7 separate regions of the Homo sapiens genome follow, and regions 1, 2, 4, 5, 6 and 7 are each linked to region 3. Evidence: promoter capture Hi-C in 16 types of primary human blood cells and fetal thymus (Javierre and others, 2016). All regions are on one chromosome and are shown on one strand. Each heading gives the region's core, a stretch centred on a gene start or on the middle of the fragment in contact. The rest is flanking DNA. Distances are from core to core; before and after follow the strand shown. Region 1 overlaps DNM3 (dynamin 3). Region 2 overlaps DNM3 (dynamin 3). Region 3 holds the start of PIGC (phosphatidylinositol glycan anchor biosynthesis class C). Region 4 overlaps DNM3 (dynamin 3). Region 5 overlaps DNM3 (dynamin 3). Region 6 overlaps DNM3 (dynamin 3). Region 7 overlaps DNM3 (dynamin 3).

Evidence for each region. The method cuts DNA at HindIII sites, captures the fragments that hold promoters and counts their contacts. A CHiCAGO score of 5 or more calls a contact.
Region 1: a fragment that was not itself captured here is called in contact with the fragment with the promoter of PIGC in region 3 in 6 of 17 cell types (total B cells, naive B cells, endothelial precursors and 3 more); the score reaches 7.3 in total B cells.
Region 2: a contact is called between a fragment that was not itself captured here and the fragment with the promoter of PIGC in region 3, in 3 of 17 cell types (naive B cells, total B cells and non-activated CD4 T cells). The highest score is 5.3, in naive B cells.
Region 4: a fragment that was not itself captured here is called in contact with the fragment with the promoter of PIGC in region 3 in 15 of 17 cell types (naive B cells, total B cells, M1 macrophages and 12 more); the score reaches 24.8 in naive B cells.
Region 5: a fragment that was not itself captured here is called in contact with the fragment with the promoter of PIGC in region 3 in 1 of 17 cell types (M1 macrophages); the score reaches 5.2 in M1 macrophages.
Region 6: a fragment that was not itself captured here is called in contact with the fragment with the promoter of PIGC in region 3 in 9 of 17 cell types (M1 macrophages, total B cells, fetal thymus and 6 more); the score reaches 11.1 in M1 macrophages.
Region 7: a contact is called between a fragment that was not itself captured here and the fragment with the promoter of PIGC in region 3, in 11 of 17 cell types (naive CD4 T cells, non-activated CD4 T cells, naive CD8 T cells and 8 more). The highest score is 20.2, in naive CD4 T cells.

What each region holds. Positions count from the first base shown.
Region 1 is chr1:172,041,513-172,044,793 of GRCh38, reverse strand. DNM3 (dynamin 3) reads right to left here. Exons shown (of 21, transcript NM_015569.5): 8 at 2,650-2,785; 9 at 342-409. Among named protein-coding and RNA genes, the nearest start is that of MIR3120, 96 kb to the left of the region's middle. The HindIII fragment of the contact is 189 bases long and covers 1,805-1,993 here.
Region 2 is chr1:172,068,348-172,071,405 of GRCh38, reverse strand. It overlaps DNM3 (dynamin 3), which reads right to left. Exons shown (of 21, transcript NM_015569.5): 11 at 2,501-2,587. Among named protein-coding and RNA genes, the nearest start is that of MIR3120, 69 kb to the left of the region's middle. The HindIII fragment of the contact is 4,034 bases long and covers 1-3,058 here.
Region 3 is chr1:172,442,621-172,445,926 of GRCh38, reverse strand. It overlaps PIGC (phosphatidylinositol glycan anchor biosynthesis class C), which reads left to right and starts at 1,858. Exons shown (of 2, transcript NM_153747.2): 1 at 1,858-1,939; 2 at 3,097-3,306. The coding sequence starts at 3,305. C1orf105 (chromosome 1 open reading frame 105) reads right to left here. Exons shown (of 7, transcript NM_139240.4): 2 at 769-854. RefSeq lists enhancers at 1,470-1,779, 1,503-2,026. The HindIII fragment of the contact is 3,601 bases long and covers 1,264-3,306 here.
Region 4 is chr1:172,001,941-172,004,809 of GRCh38, reverse strand. The region is part of intron 4 of DNM3 (dynamin 3); the gene reads right to left. Among named protein-coding and RNA genes, the nearest start is that of MIR3120, 140 kb to the left of the region's middle. The HindIII fragment of the contact is 1,286 bases long and covers 863-2,148 here.
Region 5 is chr1:171,967,013-171,970,175 of GRCh38, reverse strand. The region is part of intron 2 of DNM3 (dynamin 3); the gene reads right to left. Among named protein-coding and RNA genes, the nearest start is that of DNM3-IT1, 100 kb to the right of the region's middle. RefSeq lists an enhancer at 2,955-3,163. The HindIII fragment of the contact is 1,367 bases long and covers 567-1,933 here.
Region 6 is chr1:171,984,986-171,987,846 of GRCh38, reverse strand. DNM3 (dynamin 3) reads right to left here. Exons shown (of 21, transcript NM_015569.5): 3 at 42-191. Among named protein-coding and RNA genes, the nearest start is that of DNM3-IT1, 120 kb to the right of the region's middle. The HindIII fragment of the contact is 2,897 bases long and covers 1-2,698 here.
Region 7 is chr1:172,090,519-172,093,438 of GRCh38, reverse strand. DNM3 (dynamin 3) reads right to left here. Exons shown (of 21, transcript NM_015569.5): 13 at 564-615. Among named protein-coding and RNA genes, the nearest start is that of MIR3120, 47 kb to the left of the region's middle. The HindIII fragment of the contact is 3,923 bases long and covers 1-2,920 here.

The DNA of each region.
Region 1 (3,281 bases), core at 650-3,149, 400 kb after region 3:
CCTTCTCTGGTGTAAGTAATGATTAATTATGAGCATGTCTGGCCTCCCTCATGAAAAATGAAGGCTCTGGAGAATGGGGTCTTGCTAATCTGCGAATCCCCTATTGTGCAGAGTACAGGCTGGAAATGCAGAAAATGTTTTTGCTTTTTCACTTGGAAAAAACTGACTACAGCAATACAGGAAGTTACCATTAAACCCCAAAGTAGGATTTCCTGTTTCTTACTCCCACCTCTGTATTCTACCCTATTCAATGATGAAAAGACGAGTTTCCTAGCCATTTATAAACATTAATTTTCTTTTGGTAGCTTGAACAGATGACAAGAAAAATGTGAATCACTTGCCTGATACCATGTATGTTTTTGATTGCATAGCTTATTTCTCTTCGCAATTCTTTCTCATTGAACTCCATCTGCAGATGCAAAATGAGCCATAGTTATGACACTTAATTCCTTTGAATAATATTGTTGAACATTACAGAATGAGAATAACTTGACTTCATTATTAATAAGTGGATACTCATGTCTTTCCTAACCTAAACCCAGATGGTCAAAACATCTGTTTATATAAATTTCAAGGCAACACAGAACACTAGGGATTTTGGGGAGCTTGGGGGCAGTGGATTTTAACTCTGTTATAGATATGGAGTGCTATGCATAAGGATGCCTTCTGGACATAAATCTAGCCATTCATTTGAAATGTATAATTCTTCATTCTTTTGCTGAATATGGTAAATTTGAGGGCACAGAAGAATGCATAAATGAGAGTTTCACCTGCTGTGCAGTAGCAGTACAGATGTCCTGAAATTAACAATGGCTGTCTTTTGTCCCTGGCCACTTAAATCATTTGAGTTAAAGGCCTCTTTGTAAAAGAAAATTAGTAATATTTTAAAAAGACAACACAGGATAGATTACAAATATTTCTCAGAAGCGCTAGGTACCATAAATCTATTTGGAAGTAGGACCAAAGTGTCACAGAGCTTAGACCTCGAAGGGATAGCCCAAGAACATTGAGTTCAACCCTGACCTCTGAGATTTGGCCTCTCCGGCTTCATTGTCTGTCCATTTCCTCCCCTCACAGCTTATGCCCTAGAATGACGAATTGTTCTAGGTCTCTACCCATAACTGATGGCTTCATAGCTCATTCCTCTCCTGTCTGGATCACCCCCTCCTGTAGCCTACCTCTTCCTGCTTAACTAGCTGCTCATCCTTCCAAACTCAGCTCAGAAGCCTGGCTCCCTTACACACTTGAGCTGGGATTCATGTCTGTGGGCTGTGTTTCCATAGTACCCTTTGCTGAAGTTTATCACTTTACTTAGCACATTTTTAATGAAATTATCTATTTACCCATTTGCCTCCCACACGAAGACATAAGCACTCACCTCTCTGTTTGAGACAAGTAGCATGGTCCCTAAAACTACTCAACTGCCTATTGGGCATTTTACGCTTAGCACATCCAAAACAGAACTCCTAATTCACTTCTCCATACAAACAGAGGTTTTCCTCCATTTCCCTCATCTGATGGGCACTACCACTCCCTCAGCTGTGAAAGCCAAAACCTTGGAAGTCATCTCAAAACTTCCCTTTCTTCCATTCCCCCATTTCAATCGAAGCCCTAGCAACTTTATCTCCAAAACCCCAAAGCCACCCATCTCTCTATCCTTTCTTGCTGGGGCACTTTTACTGGAAAGCTAAAGAAGTTTAATTCTCAGCATTTCCCCCTTGCACAAGCCTCTTCCAAGACCCTGGGCCTGTGTGTTTATAATTTTGTATTCTTCTTCAAGGGGGCCTGTAAAATTGTAGAAGCTTCAGACTCCACAGAAAATGAATCCACCCCTGGTCTGGCCTACTGTTCTCCTCACTCTCTTGGCTCTTTACAATCCAGCAGGCATACTATTCTTCTAAAATCATCAACAAATCAAGTCACATTACTGCTTAAAACCCTCCTGTAACTTCCCATTGTTAAGTATAAAGACTTTACCTCAACCTAGAAAGCTTTGTGTGAACTGGACACTTCCTCCCTCTCTGAATTCACTTCATGCCCCTCTCCTTCATCAGCCACATCTGTTCTTCACCTGTCATACTTTAGTGCCTTACCCGAGGTTGCTACTTCTGCCTTGAACAACCCCTTTCCCCCAGATCTTTACCCAGTTGACCTCTTCATGCCATTCTGGGCACAGTTTAAATGTCTCCTGCTCAGACAGAATTTGCCTGATTATTCCATTAAAAGTGGCTCACCCATCCCCTCTCTCATATCATGTTACATAAAAACATTTGAAACTTTCGTATTTTGTCTATTTGTTAATTTTCTGTCTTTCCCCACTAGACAAGCAAGGGTCTTCTCTGTCTTAATCACTGGCACCTAGAAATGTGGTGCATAGTACATGCTTAAGAAATATTTTTAAATTAATTAGACAACAAACTAGGAAACTCAATTAGTATTTGTGTTTGAAATGTAGTTAAATCTCATTAAATAAAATCAGAATCATCAGTAAGAACATATTCCTCTCCTGAATTTCATTACCTGAATATGGAGGTTTTGTTCAAAGAACTATGTTAGTTCTATACCACTCACACAATATTGTATTAAGTTGTATAAAACAGAATATGGAAGTGAAGTGAAACTAAGAAAAAAATAACGTTTGACACAAACCTTTACTATCTCAAAAGGAAAGCGTTCATGAAAAATACGATTGATTTTAGCACCACCTGAGAGTTCCAGGGTATCTACTTGATCCCCTGACCCTTCAATTCTCTTCTCAAAGTCCACAGCAAATTGCTGAACCATCCTGTAATTGTTAAAGAGAAATAGATTCAAGTCAAAGTTACAAGCCTTTGCACTCTTCATTTTCTTTTCCTATGATTATTCCTTAGAATCCTTTTCCAGGTGCTCTTAGTGGCACCTACTGGCAGAGTTAACATTGCACTCTATGTAGTACTCACAGTGTGATTATACAAAATACACATCATTAAGATTTTAGACATTTAATTAGAATAAATATTTAAATATAGTTGTCTTTCAATGCCTTCTGTTCATTTGATTGCAGTCATAAAATGGTATTTAAAGAACACTTGAAATAGAGAGTTAATCAATTAAACTTTATGTAGAATAATCAAATGGACCTGAACTCCTATGACATCACAACCACCTAGTGTCCCAAATGCTCCAGCTCTATTACTCCCCCAATGTCACAGCCTCAGTCTCTCCTCACATTCATCCCTAGGTGATCTCAAGGTTGCCATAGCTTCAAGGGCTATTGAGAAATAGTTTCTCCACACCTTCCG
Region 2 (3,058 bases), core at 554-3,053, 370 kb after region 3:
TGTTTCTGCTATGCCACACAAGTCCATATTAGAGGTGACCACTACCAGCTTTGACAGGCACTTGATAACTGTTGGACCACACCACCTGAGACTGTGACTTAGTAGGGAGATGCCTGCTCCATCCCTTATGTCCTACTTGAGGAATAAATTAACCACTGTAACTGAGTTGCAGATTGAAAACAATTTCCCTTGGAATCAGAAAAGGCAATTCTTCCTCGAATCTACCATGTGCCATAGCTCTTTGGGAATAACAACAAAAACAACTAAAATTAATTAAGAACTAAGATATATATATATATATATATATATATATATATATGCAGGGTCTTGCTCTGTCACCCAGGCTGGAGTGCAGTGGCATGACCATAGCTCACTGCAGCCTCAACCTCCCAGGCTCATGTGATCCTTCCACCTCAGCCTCCGAGTAGCTGGGACTACTGGTAGTGCAGGCCACCGTGCCCAGCTAATTGTTTAATATTTTGTAGAGAGAGGGTTTCACCATGTTTCCCAGCCTGGTCTCGAACTCCTGACCTCAAGCAATCTGCCTGCCTCAGCCTCCCAAAAGTGCTGGGATTACAGGTGTGAGCCACTACACCTGGCCTTGTATTTTGATTACTTCTTTCCATCCTCACAAAATGTCTGTGAGTTAACTACCACTATTGTCTCACTTTAAGATGCGAAAATTGAAGTGTAAAGATGTCAAATAACTTGTCACAAGTTACACAAAATGTTAACAACAGAGCTGAAATTCAAATTCAGGTAGTCTGAGCCCAGAGCCCACAATCTTAACAACATGGTGAAGTTTGAACATGCCATTTTACTAAAACAAAAACTCTGAAATATGAAGAAGCTAGCAACTGACATAGATATGATTACAAATATTTAAAATGCTTTAAATAATTATCCTATATTTTCTCCAATATTATTTTGACAGCGGATCCTAAAGAGTTAAGTAGGATTTATTATCATTTGAATATTATAGATGAAAACACTAAATTAAAACAGTTAGCTTATTTACTTAAGGTCAGGAGTACAGCTGATTCTTAAGAACTTAAGTTTTCTCAGCCCAGGAGGGGCCAAGACATTAGACATTAGGGAGAACCTCTGGCCCTAGGGCTCCATATCTGGCTCTAGGCTTGATTTCACTGACTCAGGAGTTAATACTGATTTGTTCATCTCAACTGAATCACAAAGCCTGTTTTCTCCTCTTTTGGCTATTGCAGCTATCCAAGACTGTGAAAGTTGGTAAACAAGTGAAAACTATAAATGGTGATTAATTAACTTTCAAAACACAATGATAAAAAGTAGTGACAATGAATCCACAGCTCAAGCAGAGACAAGGTGGTTACTGGAATCACTCACGAATGTCCCAATCTGCTGGGTCTCCATCCCTCTGTCCTTCCTTTTCTCCTTTCTCCTCCACCTGCTCCTCTTCCCCACGCACACTCTGTGTGCTGTGTGTGTCTCTCCCTGTGGTTTTTTCCTCTCTCTTTTATTTTGTCTTCTTCCTTTTCCCCATTTCTCCCTCACCTCCTTCCCACTCATCTGAGAATCACAAAATCCTGTAATACTAACTTACACAGGCTTTCAGAGAGCATATAGACCAATATATTAATGCTGTACATGAGAAAACAACAGTCCAAAGAAGTGATTTACACAAGAACATGATGTTATTTTGTGGCGAGCACATGGCCTAAGTCCAGTGTTCTCTCCACAACATCACACGTGCAGCTGTGTCATGGAATTCAAGGGTATGTAAAACCATTTGTATTTCCTGTTATAATATTTTATAAGTAACTAAGAAAAATCCATTTAAACCTAAGAAGATTTTTATTCTTTCCACGTAGTCCTTTACTTTTTTAAATGAATTATCCTCACTTGAAAATAATCTTTCCAAATTACAAAGCTAGGATTAGAAAACAATTTCAGGGTCACTCCTTACAAACCACATACATTCACAAAATAGAAATGTTTAAAAGAGTAGTTCTCAATTTTTTTTTCAATCATAGGTTGTATGGATAAGCTGATGAAAATCTAGGTCCACTCTCTCCTCAGAAAAAAATGAAAACACTGAGCATTTTGCATAATGTTTTAGGAGTTTGTGAATCTTCTGGAGTCCATCTGTGGGCCCAATAAAAGTTAAGAACCTCTGTCTTAAAGAGAAAATGTGGTATGTTTCTGGATTAGTGGTTTTCAAAGTAGGATGTATGCATGATCCATGGAGCATTGAGAAAAAAAATAATGAAACTCCTGTTACTGCTTTTGCATCTCATTCTTCTGAATGAAGTCTTTTTATTTGCTCATATTTTTAACATAAACAAGATATGAATATAGTATGTGTATAATTCATAAATAAGTAAAAATAAACATAATGTAGTTGTGTTCCACTATTTTTTTTTCCTTTAAGCGACAGGCTGACTGTTGGGAACTACCAGACAACCTTGCAGAGACCTTCGACCTCCCACAATCTCCCTGCCCACCAGGGAAGACCTCTCTTTACCTGGTCCTTTGTCTTCCCTTCTCGCTCACGAATGTGGTTAGCAACAATCCTTTCCGTTTCCTCGCAGAGTCTGGGGAAGTTTGCCAGCTGTCAAGAAAAGCAGATCTGAGTATTAATACTCAAAAAGTTACACTACCAAAAAAGAAGCAGAGATAAATTATGTTATTTTACAGAAGATATTCATTGCCATTCTGGAAGCAAAAATGAAATATCATCAACTCCTAAAGAAGGATGTCAAGGTGATGGGAGAGGCTTCACAAACTATCATCAGAAGTAACCTTGTTATGTTGAGGAAACACTTCAAAACCAGCAGAGCAATTCCTTAGGAAGAAAGCAGAACCCTAGATACCATCTAGCACTGTGCTCCTGCTGAGTTGGCACTTAATAAAATTCAAAGATGAAGAAGTCGGAAAACAGGACAAAGAAAAGGATAATGACTAACATTTTATATAGTGTCTACCACGTGTCAGGCGCTAAGAACTTCATGAATTACCTCTTTCACTATTCACAGCAATCAGAAAAGACAGATATAATTATTAACCTCATTTCTTTTTTATT
Region 3 (3,306 bases), core at 609-3,108:
TAACGAGCTGTTTCGAATGCCAAGGAGTCATTCCTTTTTAGTCTGTCGTGTGCCTTTGGAATGGCCTCTATGCCTGCCCTTTCTCTTTCTCTCTGCCCTCTTTCTGGTTTCTCTCATTCACCCCAACACTACCTCACACCTACCCTTCTGTCCATGTCCCCTTCCCAGAGTGGGGTTTATCACTACACTTAGGAACCATTTCATCAAAAATGGAGAAGGGACACGGTAACCCAATTATTTCAAGAGACAGTTGAAATGCTCCCTAGATATGTAATTCCTGCAATTTTGAAAAATAGATTTATGTGTCATATAGTAGTTTGTTTGGAAGGAGTAGGACTAACAGGAATGTAGGAGGGTGCCTCAAAGTTACATACAGAGTTACTATTCTATAAAGATGGGAACTTACTGTTCTAGACTTTTGATGGTAAAAATGTGAAAATTTCAGACTACAGCAGTGGAGAAAATGTGGGGTGAGAAAGAGGATGGAAGTGTTTTGAGAGACAGTGTCTAGGGGAAAAATTATCTTATACTGTTGAGTGGTAGTGGTGGAGAGGGAAAAATTTTGAGATCTCATCTCCTCTAGCCAGGCCTATACTCAGTGATCATTTTTTTCTGAGAAACCCGGATTATTTCTATTTTTAAAGCACTTGACTTGAGTTTCTCAATGGATCAAATGTGCCCTCTGATAATTGTCCCCATCCCTTAAGAAGAAATCATCTTCTGTGAGATGTTTCGTAAAACTTTTGCCCTCGGTGGCTGAGAGGTTACCTTCTGGGAAGGCTGAGCACTAATGGCTTGTTTACAAGGCTGGCCTCACTAAGCCAAGGAATCTTGTCAAATTTTGGAACAGAAGCCTAGAGGGAAATAGAGAACATTTTACAGAATATATCACACTTAAACATTGCTATCATTACGATGGCCAAAGTCAGCTAATAGCAGCCATATAGTGAACACTTTACAAACCATTTTTATATTTAACTCTTTAACCATCCTATAAAGTAGCCAAGTGCAAATAATGTCATCTCCATTTTACTGATGAAGAAATCAAAGCTCAGGTAGTGTGATTTGCCTTGAGTCACTGAGCTAGTAAATGGGTCATGTTTTCTGACTTTTATTTCCACTGTATCCTGTGTTTTACTACATCCCTTTGTTTCTTTATTACTTCCTTCTGTTTATATATCCTTTAATATTTCCATGAACTCAGTTTAATTAGCAATCTTGTCCTCACTTCTTTTAGGAGGTAAAGAGGAAAAAAACCAAGCTTTGAAGCTATAGACAACTGGATATTGATCTCTGTTCATCTACTTCCCAGGTGCCTGTCTTTGGACAAATACAACTTATCTGAGCCTTAGATTTGTCCTCTTTGAGGGGGGAGATGATATAATCAGTGTAAAGGTCAATGCACCAAAAAAGAGAGTTTCATGAGAGCAGCAATTTTTGTGTGTTTCATTCACGGCTGTATCATGAGCACCCCAAGCATGGCTTGTTACATGCAGGCATTCAATCAGTATCTGTGGAATGAACGCATGGATGCACGGGAAGTCCCAGCTGAGGGCCTGACTTAATAAAGGAGCGCAACAAAAGCGGCCATTATCTCTCACCTACTGGCCCAGCCTCTTTCCTTGTCCTCTCTTGCCTTACCCAGTCCTTCAGATGGCACATCCCATCTTTCAATAGGGGATTGCTGGGGATTTGCCTTCCTAGGCTCAGAGCATTCGGGTTTGGGCCAGTCTCCAGGAGAGGAGACCGGAGGTCCTTCGAGCAGCCAGGAGGGGGCAGCAGTCACGTCGCGATGGTTCCAGCCGGGGAAGGGTGCCCTCGCTAAGGAGATTGCGGCGGACCCGGAAGTGCTTGGCCACAGTCGCAGCCCCGGCGCCCCGAAGCGGGAAAAAGGCTGGGTGCCGCCGTCCCCCAGCTGCGCAACCCTAGGAACTCTCGGGTAGGTGGGTTCCGTGTAACGGTCAGTGTTTCCGGGGCTCCTTTTCCTCTGCTGCCTCCCGCAGACCCAAGGCTGAGTGAGGGGCGGCGGCGGAAGTGGGAGGCCCACCCAAAAAGCCAAATGGGGTGCCAGAAGAGTGAAGGCGCACCCTGGGGTCACCCTACCCTACCCCGTCCCCTCCCAGCCCCACTCTGCGGGCGGGCGCTGCCCTTTTGGGCGTCGCAGACCCTCCAACCCCGGCGGCGGCCTTAAGATTCCCGGGCTGGGATCCCTGCTGCAGAGGGGGTAACGGTGTCTGGCTTGCCAAGCAATATTTGTTGTGGTCTATCATGGAAGAAATAAAGTCGGGCAATATGAATTTTTTTTTTCTCAAATTTGCCGGATGGCTGTGGTGTTTCTGACTCTTAGTTTTCTCATTGTGAAAAAGGAATGATTATCTTCTTCGATCCTCTCAAGAGTTTCCTTGTTTTGAGTAGATTGATAGCTCTTTAAAGGATGCTAAGCTCAGCTAATGGAAGAAGAGTCTAGTTTCTTTGAGGCTTTGATTTTGGTTAAACTATAGAGCTCATACCTTTCTGTATGGTGCAGCTTACTATTGTCTTTGGATTGGTAACTTAAAAAATACAAATAACATGCCTTTGAGAACCAATAAAAACTATGGATATTATCCCTATAAATTTACACAAATCCAGATATAAGCATGCAATGTGATATACCTAAGGGATATGTGAACCACTGAGTTAAGAACTGCTTTAGAGGGAGATACAATGTGAGACACAGGCTTTGGGATAAGACTTTGGTTTGAATCCTGGCTCTGCTCTGTTACCTTAGGGCAAAGTTACTTAAGCATCTTGAATCTCAGCTTTTTTACCAAAGCAGGACTAATACTAACTTACAAGGTGGTGAGGATTAAGTGAAAGAAGATACATAAGGCACTTAGCACATAGTAGGTACTCAATAAGCGATAGCTAACAGATGTCTATTATTATTCAAGGAATTATAATTTTCAAATCTGAAATGCAGTTTTAATGTCCCATAAGGTGACTACCACATACATTTTTCTCAGACTTTTAGTAAACTGAGTTGATTTGACTTTATCTCAGTACTACTCTTGACCTTTCACAACTTTCGTAGGTTCACAGTCTCTCTTTTTCTAGGAACTTGGCTGTGTTGTCCTGCCTCAGAGACAAATTCATCTATTGTAGGCCTAGCCCCTGCCTTTGAAAACAAGGAAAGGTTGGTAGAACATCAACACAGCATGGAATTTCCAGGGAGGTCTCATTTCAAAACTTCATAAAGAACAAGAACCACCTGGACTTCTGTGAGGGCGATGATTAAACTGGCCTGAGTTTGAATGAAAGGATAAT
Region 4 (2,869 bases), core at 256-2,755, 440 kb after region 3:
TAGCTCTCACTTCCTTGCCTTTATTTAAACTGAGTTCTCTTTTTTATGCCTTTCAGGTAGAGACTGTATATTCTCCCATGCTCCACAGAGCCCAGGGTTAGAGGAAAAGAGTAGAGATTAAAGAATTTTTCTTACTCCTTGGTGCTTCTCCAAACCCAAATCTTCCACCTTCACATTAAAACATTGCTTTGGAACCTGACATCGTCTGGGTAAAGCAGCTTCTATTCCCCCTTGTTGCTGTCTTCTACCAAATGTCTACAACACCCATTTTCAACACAAACACACACACACATTTTTTGAAGGTTTTAGCATCATCATGTTAGTCCTCACTCCCCTTAGTTCCGCCATTATCCAAGCAGCAGCAATGTGCATGAGGACGATGTATCCAGTCCGCTGGCTATTGAGTTCCTTGCCTGCTTCTATTCAATAATTTTTCAACTGCAGGCCATTTTAGCAATTTCCTCCCATGACCACATCCTGGACATTTATAACCTGGACTTGTTCCAGCTGTAAATCATAAACTCTAATATACATCTCTTTAACCACAAACTCCTATTCTCCCATTTTTCTTTCTTCTCTTTATAGGAACACATTGCTATTCTTCAATCTTGTCCAGAAGCCCATCCCTGAAACCATTTCATCTTCCTCAAAACATACAGATTCTTTTTTATTTCACTTTCTTCCAAGTATTTCACAGTCTGTCTTTCCAATTATTATTTTGCCAATATCCTCAACTCTTTTGCCCACTTTTATCTTCCATTCAACCCTCCCTGCAAAATCCTGATCTAAAAGCAACCCAAGTATTTGCCTCTTCAACCTCCCAGCTGCTGAGTGGTTTTGGGAATTACACAACCACTAAGCTTGGTGCAGATGCACTATGGCCTCAATAGAGTCCCCCAGTGCTGCCCACTTTCTCCTTCCATATTTCTCCACAGCAGCTGGTCAAAATACATTTCTCCCCAAATGTCTTACACAACCCCCTTCTCTCTTATCATCCTTACCTCACCCCCACCCCAGTTCTTCCTCAGCTGATAGCCTTGCTCCCCACTTACAGTGAAAAAATCTATGTCAATAGGCAATAAATTATTCAAATACCTCTCCAGATATCTACATATAGGCCTCATGTACACTTCCTTACTTCACTCTTATCTCAATGGAAAAAAATAGTTTTTCTTGTATTCAAGGTACCTGGCAGCCACTCAAGAAATGTTGGAGAGCAAGAAGGGGAGGGGGAAGAAATAGAGGAAAAAGAGGAAGGGGAGGGGGCAGGAGAGGAGGGAGGGGAAGATCCTAAAACTCAGCAATGAAAAATGGAGTTCTTACAGAACTTTAGAAGAATTTCGCTTTTTTTCATTGTCATATTTTATTTACACTGCCAACAAAATAACTGTATGAATCTAGTTTAATTATATATTCTGGGGATGGCTTGTAGAATATGTTTTTATAACAACTTTTAAAAGAGCTATTACATTAATGGAAATGTTAGAAACTCATGGTCACATCAGAATCCAGGAGTAAGATGTAATTGCATAGGAAACTATTAATTGTGTTTTAATGTCTTTGAAATAAGAAAGACATAAGAGCACAATTATTCTGTAACACTAAAGTCATCATTATTAAACACTTTTACCTTGAATAGCAATGCAACATCCATATATTAATATAAAGAGAATTTCTGAAAAAAATGAAGATTCATGTTACTAATTGGCAATTAAATTCAGAAAAAGAGAGAATATATTTATTATCTTCTTACTTTTTTAAGTCTTTTTCATGAACAGTGTTTCTTTTCTACATTAAATTTCTACATTCAAACTCCACAAAGAGCATCAGGGAAATTTTTAACTTCTTCAAGCAGCGTCTTTACAGTGACCCCCAGTGGCAAAAAAGGAATGAACGCATTAGAAATCCACGTTGAGGCCTTTTACATTGATGATAATAACAAGCTCTATTTTAACAGCACATTCACTTTATCATTGTGCCTTCACATTTTTCTTTTGTTCTTACTTTTTAAAAATCCAAATTTTACACTCACACATTCACATTCAAGTCCTAAAAATATTCTTCCTTTTTTTCACAGTAAATTTTATAATCATATCATTTTCCCAATTAAATCAGCATATCAAAGAATATATACTTTCATAAAAAGCTTTTTTAAGCCTATAAAGCTAATGTGTTTGTTGTCATATTTTCAAATCTAAATAAGACTCAATTTACTTTTTTAAAGCTTAAAATGAAAGTGTTCCTCTATACTTGGGCAAGCCCATTTCTCAACATGCAGATAAATGATCTACTCTTTGCAAACAAGCTGAATTATAACATGACTTAGCGTTTGTCTTGTTCAAGCCCAATGCATAGTAAATTCTCAATTTAAAAGAACAATGAATTGGATAGAACTTGTAAAACAAATTTTTCAAAGACTCCAAACCCTTCAGGTTTAGTCTTTGTTTCTATTTTATAATTGAGTTTATGGGTCTCAACCATATTATAAAAAGCTCAAAAACATATTCCTGAAGAAGTCAAAACATGGCTTCTATAAGCTACATATGAAGTCATTTTTTAATCTGATTTTTTCATACATATTAACTGATTCAATAAATATCAAGTAGCATTTGGGCGCTCAATGCAATTAATTAGCATCTATTACATTTGTTAAATTGGTCAAATAAGCAAAGAATTTTAAGGTAAAATGGAAATCTAATTGGGGTGAAGAACAGGTGCAGAGACAGATATAGTACCTGGAAAATAGGTTTCCTCCATGAATTGTTTTTATTTTTGCAGTTTATAAACATATTCTTTATATTCTGAGTGTTGACAATGCCTGGATGTTTGAAGCTTCTGCTCAACTAAGCAGCACCTCCACCATCTCTAT
Region 5 (3,163 bases), core at 1-2,500, 480 kb after region 3:
TTTTCGTGCTTCAAAGTATTCCATCGATAAAATGAAAATAGCAGTAGGATGCAGAAGGAAGGAACTATCTATGCCAAATAAGAATAAGTGCTTATCTTTATCTGTTTCCGCCAAAACTTGTGGTTTTGCCCAATGAAAGCCCCAAAGTCACATGGACTTCTATATTTACTAACTCTTGACCCTTAGAGTAAATTAAAAATGACTGAGAATCTGCTGTACTACACACCAAGCTTTTAGTCACACACATTATTTCATGTTAATACTCCAAACAACCCTGACTGTTCTGGGTAAACTGTAACTTCTCTGTGCCTCAGTTTCCTCTATGTAAAATGGGGATAGTGTCACCTACCTCCTAGGATTGTTGTGAGGATTAGATAAGACCATATATTTATTAGGGCCCAGAGAGCAATACCTCAAAATACGGTGTTTTGACATGCTGAACTAAAGAAGCAGCCCCAAGGTCTCTCTCTGGCCTTCACTTGCCTATCTGTTTCTTTAATCTTTTTTTGCTGAAGCACATTGGGAGAGACCCTTTCTAGAATTTCCTTTATATGACCAAGAAAGCTTCTTTATCAAAGAAATGCAATTATTTTAAGACCCCCCGTTTCTAGGAATCCCAATGAAGAGACTAGGAGTCATCACCATGTCCAGACAGACTTCTCATCTATTGTTAGGGCAGCTCCAGAGATTACCTGGGAGATGCTATCTGCATAATAAGACAACTTTTGTTCACAGTGAAGTTCAGCCCCTCGTGTTCCCACTGCCTCCCTCAGAGCTCACAGGAACTTCATCCTGACTATGATTTATCATTGTTCTTTGTGCTCATTCATTCCCCCTAAAAACCAATTACTCCTACACCTCTACTTCTCTTAACCCAGTGAAGAGGGTACTTTAGCATCAACCATGTGGCCCTTCTTTGAGTTTTCCTATTTTTTATGGTTCCCATGCTTATACACATTAATAAATCATTATGCTTTTCTCTTGTTAACCTGTCATTTTTTTATAGGAGTGTCAGCCATGACCTTTATGATGAGGAGCAAAGGGATCACCTCCTTTCTCTCCCCACATTTGGAAAACACTTAGACAAGTGCCCAGAAAGCATGTACATGCTAAAGCTCGTGTAAATGTCATTATTAAAATAATGATAACAGTTATTATAGCTTTTCTAAGAAATAAAGTGTTTTTCCATCAAAGCTAAATAAGCCAATTGAAGGCAGAATCTGAGACATCTCTACGAGTTTCAGCTGTAACCACTAAAGTTCACACTTGAAGAACACAACAATAGCATAATTTTGCATTTGGTACTTGAAATGCACCTTTATATAGCAATCACTCATTTGTTCCAACAGAAAATTAAAAACAATATTTAAATTTAGTCCCATTTTTTTTCCCTTAGTATAGCTTAGTAAGCAAATGGGACAGAAGACTGGACTTTCGCTCCAACTATAATAATTCCTTAAGACCGTTATAGGAGGCCATCGGTTTGGACTGAGCTCCTGCACTAAGCCCAACACATACCAAGCCAAAATGGGGTCACTCAAGCTGAAGTTCCACACCACCAAGCCAACACTAAGTTATTTCTCTAACCTTCCATGATATCAGGAGAGAGATAATAGCCAAATTTCCAAACAAGCCAGTGCTAGCTGGCATGATAATGAAGTCCCCTCTGCTTTAACCTTTGCAAGAAAAGTAACCTTGAAACAACCCAGCCTTTTTTGGTTTTCCGTTTCTGCCTTCTTGGTCCATTTCTGTCTATTAAACCAACCTCTGCTCAATTCATTGGGAACACTCATTCTATTTTGTAAAATGAGGAGTTGCCTGATTCTAGAATCACAAATAAAAGCCAGTTAAGATCTTTAAGCTAAATTTGTTGTAATTTTGTCTTTTGACAAGATGGAAGTTTTCAGTATCAGAAGAAAAAAAAAGGTAAGCTTTTGAGTTTCTGTCATCACAGAATCATACTGATTAGAAGCCTCAATAGCAGAGAAAGTACTTTGAACTCACAACAGAGCATTTTCCGTGTGTTTAGCACATGTATACATTCAAAGCATCTTCATTTGCTCTATCTCATTCAATCTTCAAAACCATTTTATGGAAAGTGATCATCAAAGAGATTAAGTTGTAGTGGCAGAGGGAAGGCTTCCTCTGTGCCCACTGAAGGTTTGCTAAAAATAAGCTGACAAAAGGCAGTTTAGTAGGAGAAAAAGGCATACAAAATTTAATTTGCATAAACACAGAAGCAATATACAAAGTATGAGACTCAAAGAGGGTCCAGATGATTGAGGCTTCAAATCTCTCTTCACAGAGGAGAGACATAAGGACCTGTAAGGTATATATTATTTTGTAAATGATTGTCTTTGAAAGCTGGATGGAACAAGTTATGGGAAGGTAAGGGGTGGACAGAACTGCACAGAACAAAGGTTGTCTTATTATGCAAATAAATTTCCCCAGTTAATTTCTTGGAATTGCACTCAGAAGAACAGATGAAAAGTCTGTCTGGGCATAGTGACTTGGTGACGATTCCCAATCCCTTCTGTTTCTCTGAAGGTTGATTTTTCCTGGATATTTGATGAGATTTCTAGGGAGCGTGCTCTTAAAACAACTGCACTTCTTTGTGAAATACACTTTCTTAGATAAGGAAATTCCAGACAGAATCTCTCCCCCTCTTCTTCTTGGGAAAATAAGGAGGATGAGAGAGACAGAGGAAAGTCAGAACCTTGGTTCTGAGGCCTATTTCTAAGGCCTTTTCATTTTCAAAGCACTCAGCATGTCAACAAGCTAGATTTTGGGGAATTGTTTTCTACACCCCAACAAAGTAATTTCTTTATAAAGTCACAAACTAAAAAATGGTAGAAATACAAGAAGTCAGGTCATTTCACCACTGGTCCAGAGCTCACTTCACCATACCAAGTCACATCTTCATGAAAAGTGTTTTAGTTCCAGTGGAAATCTGTAAGTATGAGACTGCCACCATATGTAGAATTGACATAAAAAATGACTCAGAACTGATTTTTTACCTCTTAGGCCTGTGATCTGAGAGACCAAAATAGATTCCCTTTTGTCAACTAAGACAAACCCTAAGGTTAAGGAAACAAAAGTTACCTACAGGTCTAGGGTTCAGGGCTCAGCTGGCATGACAACTTCCTAAATTCCTAAGGCTACA
Region 6 (2,861 bases), core at 1-2,500, 460 kb after region 3:
TGTTTGAGGAGAAGAATTTGGAATTTTATTATTTTACTTACCGTGTGGGGAATAGACTCGTAAATTAATGGGTATGGAGGAAATGCCTTTATTCATTCCAGTCACGCGATCTGTTTCTGCTTCAATCTCAAGGCGAACTTCATCAAAATCTGTAAATTTCTTTCCTTTGCAATGTAGAAACTCGGCATATTCTACAAAAATAAAACCAAAATGACACAACTTAAATTCATGCATTTTTGCCATAATTATAAAAGTTTCTTTAATTATAAGTCAAAGTATCCAATATTCTCTCTTCTTCCTTCATGAACATCCCACAGAACACAGTAGTTACTAAGAATCACAATTAATACTTTAGAAATATTAAACATAGTACAAATGCTATAGATGCTAAATTTGCCAATTTTCAGATAAGCAATTAAATACTAAAACCAGTCCCTAAACCATCTAGCCTATTAAATAATTTAAAGAAAATTTTGGCTATCCAAATGATAAAGCAAACAACAGCACCTGATTGTTAAAGACATTAGATCTGGGATACCTCTGAGTTCTGTTAGCATTCCCCTCTTCAGTATCACCATTTCATCAGGATGGAATGCCAAGTTATATAAATATATCTTCAGAAGGCAAAATAAGTTAAGGGAAATCATTTAATTTGTTAAAAATAAATAATATATGGAATCCTTTAGCTTAAAAACACACTATTGAAAATACCACATCAACTTATACAAAGACAATTTCTCAAGGAAAAAAGTTATAGAGTATTATATCAAAGCAAATATTTACCTGTAATGTAAAATTTTAAAAAAATCCCTCAGCAGAGGGAAAAACACTAAAATAACTACATAAATAACAAAACTGGGTTTTTAAATTTTCAGTAACATCCTACAAGCTGGTGTATTATCAATTTCTGTACCTACTTTGAGAGAAATCAGGTATGTAAAAAACACCACAATTTAAAAGAAAAGCTAGTACAGTACTATTAGATTTTTTAAATGAGTATAAATCTAACAAAGAAACAAATCTCCACAAAGATTTTAGTTTATCTAATATCTCAATGAAGAATTGTACAACTAAACTTAGACTATGCCTAAGCATCTTGGACCCAAATGCCAGATAAGAGCCTGTGAGGTCGAGGCTGCAGTGAGCTGTGATCATGCCACTGCACTCCAGCCTGGGCAAGAAAGTGAGACCCCATCTCAAAAAAAAAAAAAAAGCCAGATGTGGCAATTATTGGTAGCTTTACTACCATTACCCATCATAAACATTTAATATTCACTCTTGAAGATGAAATGGCAAGGTCAATAGCAAGAGAGCTATTGTGGCTGATCTCCCACGGGCACTTTAGTTACTGCAGGTAGATCAACAAGGGTTAGATTTAACACTGTGTGGAAAGGATAAAAGAGTCTTACATACACCTTCAATGCTAAAAGATAACAATACAGAATCATTTGTCACTTAGCTCAGATGTGGTCCGTGTCTTCAAGCAGGTTAGCATTAACTCAAAAAGCTAAGGATTAGACCACTGAGAAAAAACATTAATGCAGGTAGCATAATGTAAATGCTAACCTGCTCTTAAAATGATAAGAAAGGTAGAGATAGAAAAGATGATTTTAAGCTGTGGTACCCAAAAAAGGAAGTGGGGTATGGACTGAATACTGAACAGTAGGGAGGATTTTTACATGTGCAGGGAGAAAGAGGTCTTCCAGAGAATCAGAGAACCTTCATAGGTTCAACAAATCTGGCAGGTTGTCATCCAGTCTCTGCTCGGACCCATCCACTATTGGGTAACAGAAACTTTGATCTCATTGGAAAAAGCTCTGATTGGAAAATATTTATGTTTGGTATGAAACCTGCTTTCTTGTCATATTCCACTAGTCCAACTTTTGTCCTCTGGTGCTACTCAGCTGTGAAAAGGCCGTGTGCATTAATGTGAGTGTCAGCACCCTAAGTTTGTCTCCTTCCTGGGCCTCACACCCTTATCTTGCTTTGTCACATCACCACTCAGGCCCTCTGGTGGCAAAGATTTCCCAGTACCAACCCCAGCCACTCTGGCTGGAAAGGTCACAAGCTCCCAAAGTGGACCAAAAAGTTTCTACTTTAATTTACCAAAGAATTGAAATGACCTAGCTTTTTGGATGTTAGAATGAGAATCAGAGACGGATTTAATTTCTGTCTTTCCTGACAACATGCATGGACATGAGTATTTCTCTTTCTATCTTAGTTTCTCCATATAATGTGCCACTTTCTGAAAAACAGCAAGCTAAGTCTCCCGAAAGCTCATTCCTCTAATGCTGGAAGTATATCCAACAGTAAAGCCTCAACAGGCTGCAGAAATCTGGCCTGAAGAGATCAGTTCATCAAGATAAGGCATGTTCTTCTATACTTACCCTCATAGGCACTGTCTTTATTAGAATATAAATTCCCAGAAGATAGAGCCTTTATTTTATTACCCATTCAAAGCCTAGGCCAGTACCATGTGAATGTAAGAGTATATAGATAAGTAGAGGACAAAACAATACGAAAAACAAAAGAACAAAAGAAGTCAAATCCCAGAAAACAAGCAAAAATTAAAAGGAAAAATTAGAAATAATTTAGAAGAAATGGAACTGTGTTTTTTTCAATGCCATATATTCCATGGAAAATGCACCCTTCAAGACTTATGGCTATCACAACTGTTCTGTCATAGAGTTCATAAGCTTCTGGATCAGGAACTACATTTTCAATCACTGCTAATCGATACATTCCAGTTAACACAAATGTGGATCTCCTTTGTTGCCACTAGATGGCACCTACTTGCTTTCTCTGCAGGAAACATGCCCTTCCGGAAGGGTGTAAAATCAATGCAATTTTCAAATTAGATT
Region 7 (2,920 bases), core at 407-2,906, 350 kb after region 3:
CTCTGCAGAGCGCTATTAGTCAGAGACAGCTGGTCAGCCCAAAACACAAAAACTCAAAAGATCAGATCTTCTTAGGAATTAACATCTTCATTAACCAACAAGAATTTAGTGTGGCAGAGATTACATCCAACAACTGCGTTCTTCATGAGCTGTCCCTTCACTGATACCAAGCTGTGCAAATGTGTGAACTAGTTAGCAACCCCAGAAAGCTCATGCAACTACTCACCACATTTTAACCTTCAACTGACTCACAAACTCAATGTTAAATTAAACTTAGGGGTAACGTAAGCAAGCAAAATAGGACATGAGGAGTCAAATTTGAAATGCAGAGCAAGTAGCAGAAAGGTTATTTAAAATAAATCAATATGGTTAACTGCACAAAATAGCCAAAAAGAAATGCAATTCACTCCAAAAATTTTAAAAGCAAAAACAAATCAAAATGAAAGCTGCATTTCAAGCAAAATTTGCACGTGATTAATTTGCATTAAAAAAATAGTCAATCAAGCGATTTAGTTCAAATTCTTTGGGACATGCATACACTGATTCTCTTATGCAATTCCTACCTGATTTCCAACTGTGGTTTTCTTGTGAACCTGACTGCTCCTCTGCTGAGCACTGAGAAAAGCAAAGGAAAGCAGCACTGAAGAGACACATATAATTTTTTCCTAAACAAGTAACAAATACTAAAATTTATACAGGCTTTAAAAAAAAAATCAATGGAGACAGACCTAATACCAAAATTCCAGGTCAGTTTAATTCTGGAAGCAAAACCAACTCAATGGGACTCCTAATAGCACATAACTCCTAGTAGCATATAAACCAAAAATATAATAACACCACTTAAAGAAAAGCTGCATTGTAACATTAATAACATACGAGTTGACATATTTGCAGTGTCTCACAGGTACAGAGGAGAGTTGTAATGGAAATTAAGTTAATGATTATTGAGTATATGCCATGTTCTAAGTGCTTTATCGATATTAATCATTTTTATTCTCACAGCAACCCCATGAAGCAGTTACGATTATTCTTCTTGTTTCATAGATGAGGAGAGAAGCTAAGTGACTTTCCCAAAATCACTCAGCTAATAAGTGGTAGTACCAAGTAGCATGGCTCCGCATCACAAACTCTTTGTGATATTGTCCAGTCTCACTGCTTTGAATTCCAATATATTCTGACAACTCCTTTAATGCATCTCTGGTTTGGATCTGCCATGTAGATCCAAATATGTATGAGTCCCAACTCTGGACTTATTGATGTTTTTAACAACTTAACCTCATCACTTGGGTATTTAATGGGCATATCATTCTTAATATTTCAAAACTAAACTCCTGAAATCCCCCCTAAAATCTGTTCCACCCACAGTCTTCCTTCCTCCTCTTAACTAATGGCAATTCTATACCATACATTCAAGTTCCTTGGCCAAAATCTTTGTCTCCTCTTTCTCTCACAACCCATATCCGACCATCAGAAAATGCTGTCGACTACTTTCTTATAATAAATTTAACATTTAACCATCTTTTCATCACTTCCATTGGTCCCACCTTGGTCCAAGACACTGCCATCCCTCATCTGGATTACTGTAATCATTTATTCTCTGGTCTCTGCTTCCACACTTGTCTCCCTGAAGTCTATTCTTAACAGACACCAGAGTGATACTTTCAGAAGGACTATGTTAACTCTTCTGCTCGAAACCGTGTACTGCATCAACACCATTCCATTTAATGGTAAAAACCAAAGTCCATACAAGGGTCTACAAGGCCCTACTCAAGCAACCCCCACTACTGCCTCTTTGACTCATCTCCTCCTACCCTTCACCTTGTTCCCTGAAGAGTTCCAGCCACACTGGCATCTGCTCTTTTTCAAACCCACCCAATACACTCCCATTTAGAGCCTTCAGGCAAGCTAGCTCCCTAGGATGTACTTCCCGCTTTCATCTGCATGGTTCCCAACATCTCTTTCAAGTCTTCATTCAAATCCTTCTTTTCAGTTAGGACTACTCTGACCACCCTATTTATAACCGCATCCCTCCCTTCCTCCAAGACTATCATCCCCTTTACCCTGTTTGATTTTTCTGTCTGGCATTTCTCACCTTCCGATACACTACACGGTGTATTTATTTTTTGTGTTTGTCTGCCCTTTTCCATTAGACTGTAAGCTCCTAATGAGCAGGGGTTTGCGTCTGTTTTGTTCACTGCTATATCCCCAGGGCCTGCAAAGGACATGGCACATGGTTGGTTTCATGAAATATCTGTTCGATGAAAAGCCCAATGAAGTTGATGCCATTATAACCCTCATTTTAGACATAAGCACAGAGGGTTAAAAGCCAGAAAGGACTCCAACAACTTAACAACAGAGCCCACACGTTTCATCACTAGGTTACTCTATCCCTCAAAAGGACAAAGGCTTTCTTTTGGTGGATCCATGAATAAACACGTATCAATATAAGAAACACAACTCATTTTGGTTATTCTGGGAAGATCAGCAATACTCAGTATTCTTACAGATTGTTTAATAGTTTATGGAAGCTGTTTTGGAGATCAATGAAATGGTCTAAAATAGAGAAAAGGGAGACTAAAGCTCTCAGTCAACTGTTTAAAGTGATGGGATGTTGTGCTGCAGTAACAAGTTAGAAATCAACACCACACTTAGAACAGCTGATCAAAATAAGTTTTTAATAAACTCCTCTGATACATTTAAGCTGCTTTCCTTCACTCAAACTCATGAAAAAACACTGCATTCAACTGAAGGTGGGCAGGGGGTGGGTGGTGAAAGGCCATACTGTATTTGGTTGCTAAAAATATTTTGTGTATATATTTTTTTCCAATTTAAAATTTGCTAATTTCAACTTCTTCCTTCCTTGTTTTTTATTTTTCCAGCTTTCTGTTAAATGGTTAATCCTCTTAATTACGATGAAATT